3 separate regions of the Homo sapiens genome follow, and all the other regions are linked to region 3. The links are contacts of gene promoters, found by promoter capture Hi-C in blood cells and fetal thymus (Javierre and others, 2016). All regions are on one chromosome and are shown on one strand. The core of a region is centred on a gene start or on the middle of the fragment in contact, and the rest is flanking DNA. Distances in the headings are between cores, read along the strand shown. Region 1 overlaps GALNT16-AS1 (GALNT16 and EXD2 antisense RNA 1). Region 2 overlaps EXD2 (exonuclease 3'-5' domain containing 2). Region 3 holds the start of PLEKHD1 (pleckstrin homology and coiled-coil domain containing D1).

Evidence for each region. Contacts are between HindIII fragments. The CHiCAGO score rates a contact against its expected background, and 5 or more counts as called.
Region 1: a contact is called between a fragment that was not itself captured here and the fragment with the promoter of PLEKHD1 in region 3, in 7 of 17 cell types (M1 macrophages, M0 macrophages, megakaryocytes and 4 more). The highest score is 9.2, in M1 macrophages.
Region 2: a fragment that was not itself captured here is called in contact with the fragment with the promoter of PLEKHD1 in region 3 in 1 of 17 cell types (M0 macrophages); the score reaches 5.1 in M0 macrophages.

Annotation. Positions count from the first base shown.
Region 1 is chr14:69,247,574-69,251,252 of GRCh38, reverse strand. All of the region lies in intron 2 of GALNT16-AS1 (GALNT16 and EXD2 antisense RNA 1), which reads left to right. Among named protein-coding and RNA genes, the nearest start is that of GALNT16, 11 kb to the left of the region's middle. The HindIII fragment of the contact is 1,254 bases long and covers 1,385-2,638 here.
Region 2 is chr14:69,230,704-69,234,523 of GRCh38, reverse strand. The region is part of intron 5 of EXD2 (exonuclease 3'-5' domain containing 2); the gene reads right to left. All of the region lies in intron 2 of GALNT16-AS1 (GALNT16 and EXD2 antisense RNA 1), which reads left to right. Among named protein-coding and RNA genes, the nearest start is that of GALNT16, 28 kb to the left of the region's middle. The HindIII fragment of the contact is 6,270 bases long and covers 1-3,820 here.
Region 3 is chr14:69,482,581-69,486,133 of GRCh38, reverse strand. PLEKHD1 (pleckstrin homology and coiled-coil domain containing D1) reads right to left here and starts at 1,406. Exons shown (of 13, transcript NM_001161498.2): 1 at 1,020-1,406. The coding sequence starts at 1,168. The HindIII fragment of the contact is 7,160 bases long and covers 1-3,553 here.

The sequences.
Region 1 (3,679 bases), core at 762-3,261, 240 kb after region 3:
GAGCTGCAGGGTCTCTGGCAGGGTCCCACTGCCCTGGTCTCCCCAGTGCCTGCTCCTCATCAACTTTCCCTCATGACATCCAGCCTCCACCTGACCTTCCTCTTTTGATTCTAACCTTTAATGGGTGCTGGCCCATCACTTGTGTGTCCTATGTTCTCTATGCCCCTCCTCAGATTTCTGATCCCCCCCATTACCTGTTTCACCGACTTATGGCACTGCCACACTGCCAAGAATAGCCATCATCACTGAGGTCTGCTTCCTAGTCTGGAGCTCTCACTTGCCCCACAACCGAGATTGTTCGAGGTAGGAGCCTCTACCGTCCATTCACATACCCCATACCCTACATCTTTCCAGAATCAACACAGCCAATCTCCCCTTAGCAAGTAAAAAATATTCATGTCCTTCCTTTGTATGACCCCTTACTGGGAATCCAGAGATCATGATGCTTAGGTCTTGTAAGTGGTCTCCGTGGATAGGGTGGGAAGAGGCCACATTGGTCTTCTGAAGTCCTAACTCTCTTTGCTAAAAGATACTCTTTTGAAAATGGCTCTGCACGCTGCCCATGCTCAATCTGGGGTGTCCTGGCTGTGCTGGAGCACTGACTGCTGACCTCACATTGCAGGCCCCAGTGTTTGCCACTGCAATGAGCAGCCTCTCCTGCCTCCCCAGCTGCACACAGGCCCAGGTGGGGCTGGGCTGTCCCCAAGCAGGCCACGGGAAGGTGGAGGCAAGAAGATCATCGGGAAGCCATGACAGTCAGACAAGCAGCAGCAGATGGGGATGTGCACTGGGTGGAGTGGACAAATAGCACGAGGAAAATCAGCTTTGGGGACAGAAAAAGCCAAGTGGGAAGTGTAATAAATACTAAAACCAGAAAAGCCTGAAGACAGTCCATCTAGGGAGCAGCAGGAGGATGGCTAACATCACTGGAGTTTAGGTCGAAGGGGAGGACAGCAGGAGGGGTCGAGGTGGTCAGTATTCCAGGGGCTAGGGACAAGAGAAATGGCACAACATAAGTCTCTCGGGAAGGGTCACTCACCTTCCAAGCTGTTGGACTCATTGGCTGCCACAAGAAGAATCTATTTAAAACACACCAGGCATTTTGCCTCATTCTGTTTCCCTGCCCAGAAAAGGCTGGAGCCGAAGGCTGAGGGAGAGGGAAGGATTCCAGCATCAGGACCCTGCATGGATGACATGGCTGAGACCATTCAGGATGGGGAAGATCCCTGCTCCATCCTGAATGACCCACACTTACATCCCCCACCCCCACCTAAGCTGCCAGGCCACTAAACTCCTCGCATATTGAACACAGTCCCAAAGGCAGCTTGTGGTACCATTTCCACTGGGAAATACTCAATGGCTTCCTTCATCCTGTTTTCAAGCTTGTCAGAAAGCAGATGCTGCTCAAATCTGACAGCTGCTCTTAAGGGCACGCTCAAAGGGCACTCCCTGACCAGTGGGAATATTCTTAATGATGACTGAGAGGCCTTGGGTGTTTAGACTATGGCAAGACAAAGGAGCGAGCATGAAAGGGCATCAAGGGTAAAATGGCCCTAGGGAAACCATACGGGACTTGAATTGGAAAACACCAACAGCCTCGCTCCTTTCTCTGGACTGTGTATCTTTGGGAAGTTCTAATTTGGAGAAGACCTGACTCCTTATCCACCTGCCACAGAGAAAGTATTAATAAAATATGAGGCTAGGGTCTATGAGAAGTGGCCCAGGAAAGCCATCTATGCAAATTTTGTTTCCTTCCTACTTGAGAGGGTTGGGGATGAGAGGTCCTTCCTTCCCTGGCTCATAAGCCCATGAGTTGTGTAAAACACTGTTCAAGAAGGCAGAATATAAGCCCTCTGTTGTGCATGATATTCATATTCTTGAAAGAATTAGTGTATAAATCAAATTTTACCTGCCAGAGAAGCTGGCTTTTCAAAATAAATTTGAAGTCAATCCTATGTTTAAACAGAAGGATGGCTTGTAAAGGTGAATAACCATCCTAGGTCACAATTTGCAAATTGGGAACTCTGAATGTCTGACTTGGATGGTGGGGCAGGGGGTTCTGTCTAGAGATTAATCTATGGTTTGCTTTTAGGTTGCAACTAAGCATTACTTTAAAACAAACAAAAGACTGAGTTTTTAAAGAACATTTTTAATGGAAAATTTCAAATATATATATATATATATATAGAGAGAGAGGGGGCCCACTATGATAAACACACAGCTTCAGTGATTCTCAACCCATGGCCAATCCTGTGAGAAACATGAACTTTTGAACCAGCTGACAGATATAGAGGATGAACTTCGTGGTACAGAACAAAAAGAAGTAGTCCTACTCAGGCTGCAGTATCCAAAACGTTTCTGCATAAATGCCCTAAACTAGAGCCTAAAGTGTGAAACAAAGGGGTGGAGAATATTATTGGTTCGCGACCAAATAAGAAACCTGGGAATTAAAACACAAAACAAAACCACACACACATACAATCTCTCTGAGGGATGCAAATTAATAGTAACACTGGTTGCCTTCAAGGAGGGCAGAAAGACTGGAGCGATTTTCATTATATGTTTTTTAAAAATTTTATACTATGTGCACATTTTACCTATTTTTAAAAATTAACTTACTAAAAACAAACATGAAGCTTTGCAATAACCAAATCCACTAGATGTGACAAAAGGGAAAACTGTCTGGACTCAATATATAAGAGGACTTATATTCTGCCTTACTGAACAGTGTTTTACACAACTCATGGGCTTATGAGCCAGGGAAGGACGGACCTCTCATCCCCAACCCTCTCAAGTAGGAAGGAAACAAAATTTGCATGGATGGCTTTCCTGGGCCACTTCTCCTACACCCTAGCCTTATATTCTATTAATACTTTCTCTGTGGCAGGTGGATCTTCATCACATTTTGATCTGGATTTACTGTTTTATAGTAATTTTCTCAGCTAGAAGAATGCACAACCTTCCAATCCCAAAACGTACATCATTAGAATAGGTGCTTCACAAAATATTAAAAACACCAGCCCCTGGTGGTTATATGGATATATGCATTTGTCAAAATTCATTGAGTTGTATTCTTAGATGTGTGCACTTTATCATATGTTACTTATACTGCACTTTAATAAAGTATTGCTAAAAACAAAACAAAAAATCACAGTCCTTGTGGACAAATAAGCCAAAAAATCACCACTTAGAGGTTTGTTGGGTTGGTGGTTCAGAGAAAGCTGCTGTTATGAGGAAACATTATGTGGACTTTTTGCAAAAACTTACTCTTTGGAAACCACCACTACAGCATGTGCTTTTGGTTAAGCATTCCATGGCTGAAACGCAACTCTATGCTGAAATGCCGAGAGGATGAGGCAAAATCTTGGCCAAGGTCAAGTTCTGTTGATGGTCTGAGAGGGGGATGGCAGCCAAGTGCTCTGCACTTGTATAACATTTAAAAAAGAAAAACTAACCTAAGTCATCTTCTGTTCCTTTTTGTAGCCAACTTTAGTCCTGCTCATTGTGTCCAAGAACTCAGAGGCAGCCATATGTGCAACAGCTCAGGCTTACCAAACCTCCAGGGCCAAACATACATATCGTGATTAAAAAGAAACGAAGCCAGCCAACAGGGCTTTAGTTGATTCCATGGGATATAAGGAGAAATTTCAGAATTTTAGATAAAGTTAGGGTCCATCGA
Region 2 (3,820 bases), core at 1,137-3,636, 250 kb after region 3:
AGTAAATTGAATAGTATGATTAACTCTCATGTTCCCTATGTTTTTAACTAAAATAGCTAAAATAATGACTTACTCTAAATGCTGGAAAATCCTCACCTATATAAATCAGTGAAGTTTCTATCTACTACCAAATTGCTGGACAGATTTCTCTCAAGTTTGGGGGAAGGGTAGTTAACAAAGGCCTGATAACTAGTACATGAAATTCACTTTGGAGGCAGTCATCCTCTGGAATGGCTGAAATCATGATTCATTAAGAGGCCTGTGTGACTGTCAATCAGAAATGAACTGCCATATCTATTAATATGATATTGAAAACAAAAAAAACAAATAGGTTTCAAACATGGGCCTCAAATCAAAGTCACAGGGCCCATTCCTGGAATTTACTTATTTAATAGTGGTAAGTCATTCTCCTAAGCAACTGGTGATAGGCAAGCTGGTCATAAAGAAAAGTACTGTGGGCCAGGTATGGTGGCTCACACCTGTAATCCCAGCACTTTAGGAGGCCAAGGCGAACAGATCACCTGAGGTCAGGAGTTCGAAACCAGCCTGGCCAACATGGTGAAACCCTGTCTCTACTAAAAATACAAAAATTAGCTGGGTGTGGTGGTGGACGCCTGTAATCCCAGCTACTCAGGAGGCCTAAGGCAGGAGAATCGCTTGAACCCAGGAGACGAAGATTGCAGTGAGCTGAGACCGTGCCACTGCACTCCAGCCTAGGAGACAGAACAGGACTCTATCTCAAAAAAAAAAAAAAAAAAAGTAGCGTGGTCAAAACTAAAATTCGGCTGGGTGTGGTGGCTCACGCTTGTAATCCCAACACTTTGGGAGGCTGAGGCGGGTAGATCACTTGAGGTCAGGAATTTGAGACCAGCGCAGCCAACATGGGGAAACCCCATCTCTACTAAAAATAAAAAAAATCAGCTGGGCGCGGTGGCACGCGCCTGTAATCCCATCTACTCGGAAGGCTGAGGCAGGAGAATCGCTTGAACCTGGGGCTTGAACCCAGGAGGCAGAAGTTGCAGTGAGCTGAGATCGCACCACTGCACTCCAGCCTGAGCGACAGAGTGGGACTCCATCTCAAAATAAATAAATAAATTAATTAAATTAAATTTAAAAAAAAAACTAAAATTTTAAAAAAACTAAAATTAATAGCTTTTCCCAACAAAAAGTGTAAGGACTTTAAAATTCTATTATTTCACCTTTAATAACCAAGCCAGTGAATAATTCTATTAGTAAGGATCATTTATACTTTTAGAGTAAAACAAGTTTGGATAAAATTTTCCACCTAGATCCAACAATCTACATATCTATTAGCAGACTGTTTCCCACAGAAGAATGTGTGCTTGAATGAGAAGACTTTAGAGTTCCCTCTAACACATTATTTTCTAATGATAAAGAAACAAATGGTACTAGGATGACTGGAGGTCCACATGCAAAAGAGTGAATGTGGACCCCTACCTCACAAGACACACAAAAATTAACTCAAAATGGATCACAGACTTAAATGCAAGAGCTAAAACTATATGACTTTTAGAAGAAAATATAGGAGCCAATCATCATGACCTTGGGTGAGGCAATGATTTCTTGACTATGACACCAAAAGCATAAGCAATTAAAGGAAGAGATTTTTAAAAAGAAACTGATAACTGGAGCTCATCAAAATTAAAAACTATTGTGCTTCAAACAACCAATGGTAGAAAATACTTTATAGATCATCTATCTGAAAAGGATCTAGAGTATACAAAGAATTCCTAAAACTCAAAAATAAAATAACAAATGACCCAATTAAAACATGGGCAAAGGATATGTATGAATAGACATTTCTCCACGGAAGATATACAAATGGCCAATACCCACATGAACAGATGCCCAGCATCATTAGTCACAAGGGAAATGTAAATCAAAACCACAATGAAATACCGCTTCACACCTACTAGGATGGCTCTAATGGAAAAGACTGACAATAACAAATGTCAGCAAGGATGCAGAACCCCGACACCCTCATACACTGCTGGTGGGAATACAAAATGGTGTAGCTACTTTGGAAACCAGTTAACATTTCTCAAGGATGAACAAGTGGTAACTGACTTGGCAAGCAAGGTTGAAACTAGGCCTATGCAAGTGGTATGGCAAAAAGCCTAAGTTCAAATGAGTTTGAGCCACAGAGACCAGGAAAGCATAAGGAATGGAGACACCAGGTATCTGTGAAGGCAAGGGCGGAAACAGAAGGATAAGGTGAAATCTCTATAGAGAACACTTACACCCTGATCTCCTCCTTTACAGCACAGGGCCAGACAACTATCCCTCCCCTAGCCCAAAAGACAGTAAAAGTTTAAATCATATAATGGTTAAACCACAGAGGATCTGGACCTGGTAATACCAGGCAAAACTGAAGGGAGGGACAAAATGTCACCTGAAGAAAGGGGGATTAAGGGAGAGATTACACATTGAATGTTAAAACCACTGGCACCTTTCCCCCACTCAGTGACTGGAATATAGGCAGTGGGACTTACACTTCTTGAATAGAATACTAGAAGATTCATCTGTGGAGAAACTAAGTCACCTGAGAGAAAAGACAGTTACTGACTTTTTTTTTTTTTTTTTTTTTTTTTTTACTGCTCATGCTCCCTTTCTCAAGAAACTGTTATGAATGTACTCCACCAAGGCAAGAAAGGAAGAAGACATGGAATTTAAAAAACAGAGGATCTACTATGAAAGAGAAAGGTGAAGGGAATTCCAGGCTGATGGTAAATGCAAATTCCAGGATGAGAGTTGGGCAGCAGGCCTAGAGTGCACTCCGTCCTGGGAGGAGCCAGATGATAGAGGGCTCTAGGAGAGAAGGCTCCAAGGGAAAATGAAACAAGTAAGTGACCTGACGTGTGTCTGAACCAGCCCAGAGGAGATCCATAGTTCTGATAAGGAGTCTGGGGTGGAAATAATAGGTACATGGAACACTATGCAAACAAAATACTAATTATTAATCCTGGGAAATAAAAGTAACTGCAGTTTACTATGTGACTCAGCTATAAATAATATAAATACTGTATATTAACCTGATAAAAATGATGATTTACCTAAATTGGGAGGATGGGGAAGAGAAGTATTTGTCCGGGGACAGGGGAGCTGCAAGAGTACTAAACCGTATCTCCCACAGTATGATGTCAAAAGATAATATAAATAAATAAGAAAGAATAACGCATGCATGTAATTTAGAAGTATAATGATAATTACCAGAAAGAAATGAAAGTGGTTGCCTCTGAGGAGAAGAAGGAAGAAGGATTAGGAATGGGGAAAGGTAATGCAGGGAACTACTTACTGCTTCTTAAAATAAGTTATAACTCCTACACACTTATAACACTATATTTTTTTTAAATTATACATTTGTATTCATAAAAAAAATCCCTTTTTCTGAAATGCCCAACATATAGTAAATGCTCAAAAAAAATCAGGACTCTTGGCCAGGCTCGGTAGCTCACACCTGGAGGTTGAGGTGGGTGGATCACTTGAGGTCAGAAGTTCGAGACCAGCCTGACCAACGTGGTGAAACCCCATCTCTACTGAAAATCTAAAAATATTAGCCAGGCATGGTGGTGCACATCTGTAATCTCAGCTACTCAGGAGGCTGAGGCAGGAGAATTGCTTGAACCCAGGAGGCAGAGGTTGCAGTGAGCCAAGACCGTACCACTGCACTCCAGCTTGGGCAACAGAGTGAGACTCCATCTCAAAAATAAAACAAAAGCAGGACTCTTATCCTTTATTTAAGTGATTATTGTAGACCAGTTAGCTGGAGTATCACCAGAGAATGAATCTATTTTAAGGC
Region 3 (3,553 bases), core at 157-2,656:
GTTTCCTGGAAGGGTCACACCTCCGCGGAAGGGCTGGACAGGGTCTGCATTCTCCAGGCCATACCAGTAGTGAATCTCAGAACTGAAATTGACTGGAGAGTGGAAACTGTCCAGAAAATGGCCCACAGCACCTGCAGCCAGTTGGGAGCTTCCTGCAAGTCCAGGGCTGTGAACTCCCTCTTCCCTCAATACCTCCCAGGCTAATTTGTAAGTGGAGAGTGGCTACCGATGTCCGCGGAGTCGCGTCTGAGTTGGGGACCAGGCAGCTGGGGCTGAAGGATGGTTGGGACTACCCTGTCTCTCTCCACCACCCCTTTCAGAGGATCAATCCTTGGCAGAACCAATCTATCCCCTCCTTCACTCCAGCTGCCTCCCTCCTTTCCAGCTCCTCCGTCTGAAGCACTAGAATCTCTCTTCCCTGTGCTCACTTTTAAAAAAATTATTTCAAGGGACAGTTGGAGGGGTTGCCAAGGTCACTTCCCCATGGACAAGCACCCTTCCTGGCCCTTCCTCCCTCCTTAGCCTGAGCCTTTCAGAAGGGCCAGGTCCCTCTCCGTCTTAAGGGTGGGTGGTTGGCGGGAGGGAGACACTCAGGCCCGGTCCTCGCGGCCTGGGTCAGGGGTTGTGAAGACGATGGAATTGACAGTGGGGGTCCCGGGGTTGGGGGCATCTTTGGCTAGAGATGGAGTTTCTGCCTCCCCTCAGTCTGGCCTGATCTGACCTAGCTGGGATCCCACCCCGACCACGGTCTCTTCTGCCCACACCCAACATTCCCACTCGAGGGTCAGGTTCATTCCATAGAGAATTTGCCACCGCCCCAGGGCAGGGGCCCCATCTCCATTCTCCCGGCCCAGACTATGGTCCACATTTTCCTGCGGGAGCCAGTGTAGAGTGAAAAGGGGTGACGCCAAGGTCACACAGGAAAGCAGAGGCACGACGGCGACTGGAGGGGGTGGGAGGGGTAACGACGCCCAGGCTCTCTCCCCGGCGGTCTCCTTGGGGCGCGGGGGCGCACTCACCGCCGGGACCACTTGGCCGACGGCCTGCCGAAAGGCCTCTTCCACAGCACGCCGTAGAGCTGCACTTTGGTGCTGATATCCAGGGCGTCCGAGTCAGCCTGCTCCAGGGACGGCGAGGGCGACACCGAGTTGGACTTGGACGTGAACATCCTGCCTCAGCGGGGCTGTGCCCGGCCCGGACCCCACCTCCCCGGGGTCAGCAGGGACTCGGGGCGAGAGGCGAGGGCGGAGCCGTCGGAGAGCGTCCCAGCGAGCAGAGAAGCAGAGCGGCCCGGCCCGGAGCTGCAGCATCAAAGCGCGCTGGGCACTGGACGCGGCACCAAGGGGGCGCAGGGCGCGTAGCCGGCGGCTTGGGCTCCGGATTGCAGAGGGCCGGGCGGGAACTCCGCGGGGAGGGTGGCTCAGCCTCGGGCCGGCAGCATCTCCTCCCCTCCCGCCCTAGCCACCCACCCCCCCGGCGACAGCCCCAATTCTGGTGGCCCCGATTGGCTGGGAGTGGCAGGTGAGCCGGCGGGAGGCCGGCCTCGGGCGCCAATCAGGGCGGGCGCCGGCTGGAGGGCCGGGCTCCGTGCGTCCAGAAGGTCCCTGCGGGTCGCAGGGCCCGGGGACTTGGCCGCAGCGCGTCCCCGTCCCCGCCCCGCGCGCCCAACACCACCCCGGGGTCCCTCTCGGCGAGCAGCGCCGACATCGAGACGAGGGCCACGTCCGCTTTGCAATGGGGTTGGAGGCACTCCTGCAGACACCTGCTCGCCTCGGGGTGGAGGAGAGGACGGAGCTAGGGCGTAGGGTCACACACTCCGGCCTGGAATTCCACCGCAATTCCTACCGCTCCGTGAACTGCGGCGGTCTGGCTTTTCTCCCCAGTGAAGTGGCGATGCCTGATGCCCCGGGCAGGCGGGTGGCCAGGTAGGACTTCAGGAAGTGCCCAAAGTGCCCGCATGGGGAGGGGCTCCATCAAGATTGGGTTCCCCCCAACCCTTCCCCCTCAGGTGGGTTTCACTGTGCTCCGCCGCCGCCGCCTAGCGCGCATCGGATCGGATTTCTCTTCCTGGAACCTGACCGTGTCTGTGTCGGCATTTGGCACTCAACGCCAGTCTGGAGCTATCCGTGCAGTGTGTGTCCGTGATTTATCTGCGCGCCTGGCCCGCGCTCCCTGGGACCAGCTGTTCCATCCGCTTCCGCTCCTTTCGGAGTTGGCGTTTGGGGTGACCGGCTCATTTTCAGGCCAGGGAGATGCCGGCCGGGCCCCAGGGGACCGCCTCCTCCCGGCAGGTGGAAATGCTAGGCTGGCACAGCTGCCTGCCCCGCGCCACCTGCCAGGCGTGGAGACCGCGCAGTGAGCGGCCGCCCGCCAGACCACGCCGCAGTCGCGCTTTTCCAAGATGAGGAGCCAAGGACGCCTCTGGAAGTCGGATTGCAACAGAAGTTTACAAATGGTTAGCCCGAGAGCCAGATCCACATTGCTTTATGAATTTGCCCCAAGTTTTTAAATTGAGGTATACTTCATGGTAAAATGCACACATCTAAGTTATTTCTTTGATGAAGGTATATAAGATGTAACCCCACCCAAAGCAACAGACAGAACATTTCCATCACCTGCAGAAAGTTTCTTCATGCCCCTTTATAGTCAATCAGCCCCCCAACAACAACCACTTGTATCATTCTTACCACCTCTGCACAGTAGACTTAAGTCTTTGAATGTAATGCCTAAAGGCGCATCCCCACAGGCCCCATCATCCCCTATTGTCTGACCTGCCTGGCCCCTCTGCAGGCATTTGGATGTGTGACGCCCACTAGATGTTCCCCAAGGCCATGCTAGATCTCCCCATTTTATGACTCTAGCTAATCATCACCCTGGTACTCTTCCCTTAACCCCCTCTGGGGTTCCCAAGCTCAGACAGCATCCCCTTGTTGCTCACTGTCAAGAAGTGCCCATCTGAATTCCTTGCACTTCTCTCATGGCTCAGGCCCCCATGCAGAACATCTCAGGCCAAGCCTTAACACAGGGCCCGGGGCTTGGCTCCATCAGGTGGGAGGAGGTGGGACTGGGAAGATGATGAGAGCCCGGGGCCAGAGTACAAAGTGGACATTTTCTGTATATTTTTTGTCTATTTCTGACACATGGTCTAATGCTTGGAAATCTTCCCACTTTAGGAGCCCTGCTTTTCTTTTCTTTCTTTTTTCTTTCTTTCTTTTTTTCTTTCTTTCTTTTTTTTTTTTTAGAGAGATGGGGGTCTCATTATGTTGCCCAGGCTGGTCTTGAATTCCTGGCCACAAGTGATCTTCCCACCTCAGCCTCCCAAAATGCTGGGATTACAGGTGTCCTGCTTTTCTAAGATGAAAGCTAGAAAACTTGTGTTAGGAGCCTGTGGTCTGGAGTTCACCAGTCAAGGGCCCCTGACTTTGAGTTGCAGGTAACAAATGTGAGGAAAAAGCATACACAGGCTTGCACTTTTCAAGGGAACATGGTGGCACATGCATCTGACGTGCCTTGGGTGACAGCTGTGTGCTCCTGGGGTGGCAGCAGCATGTGT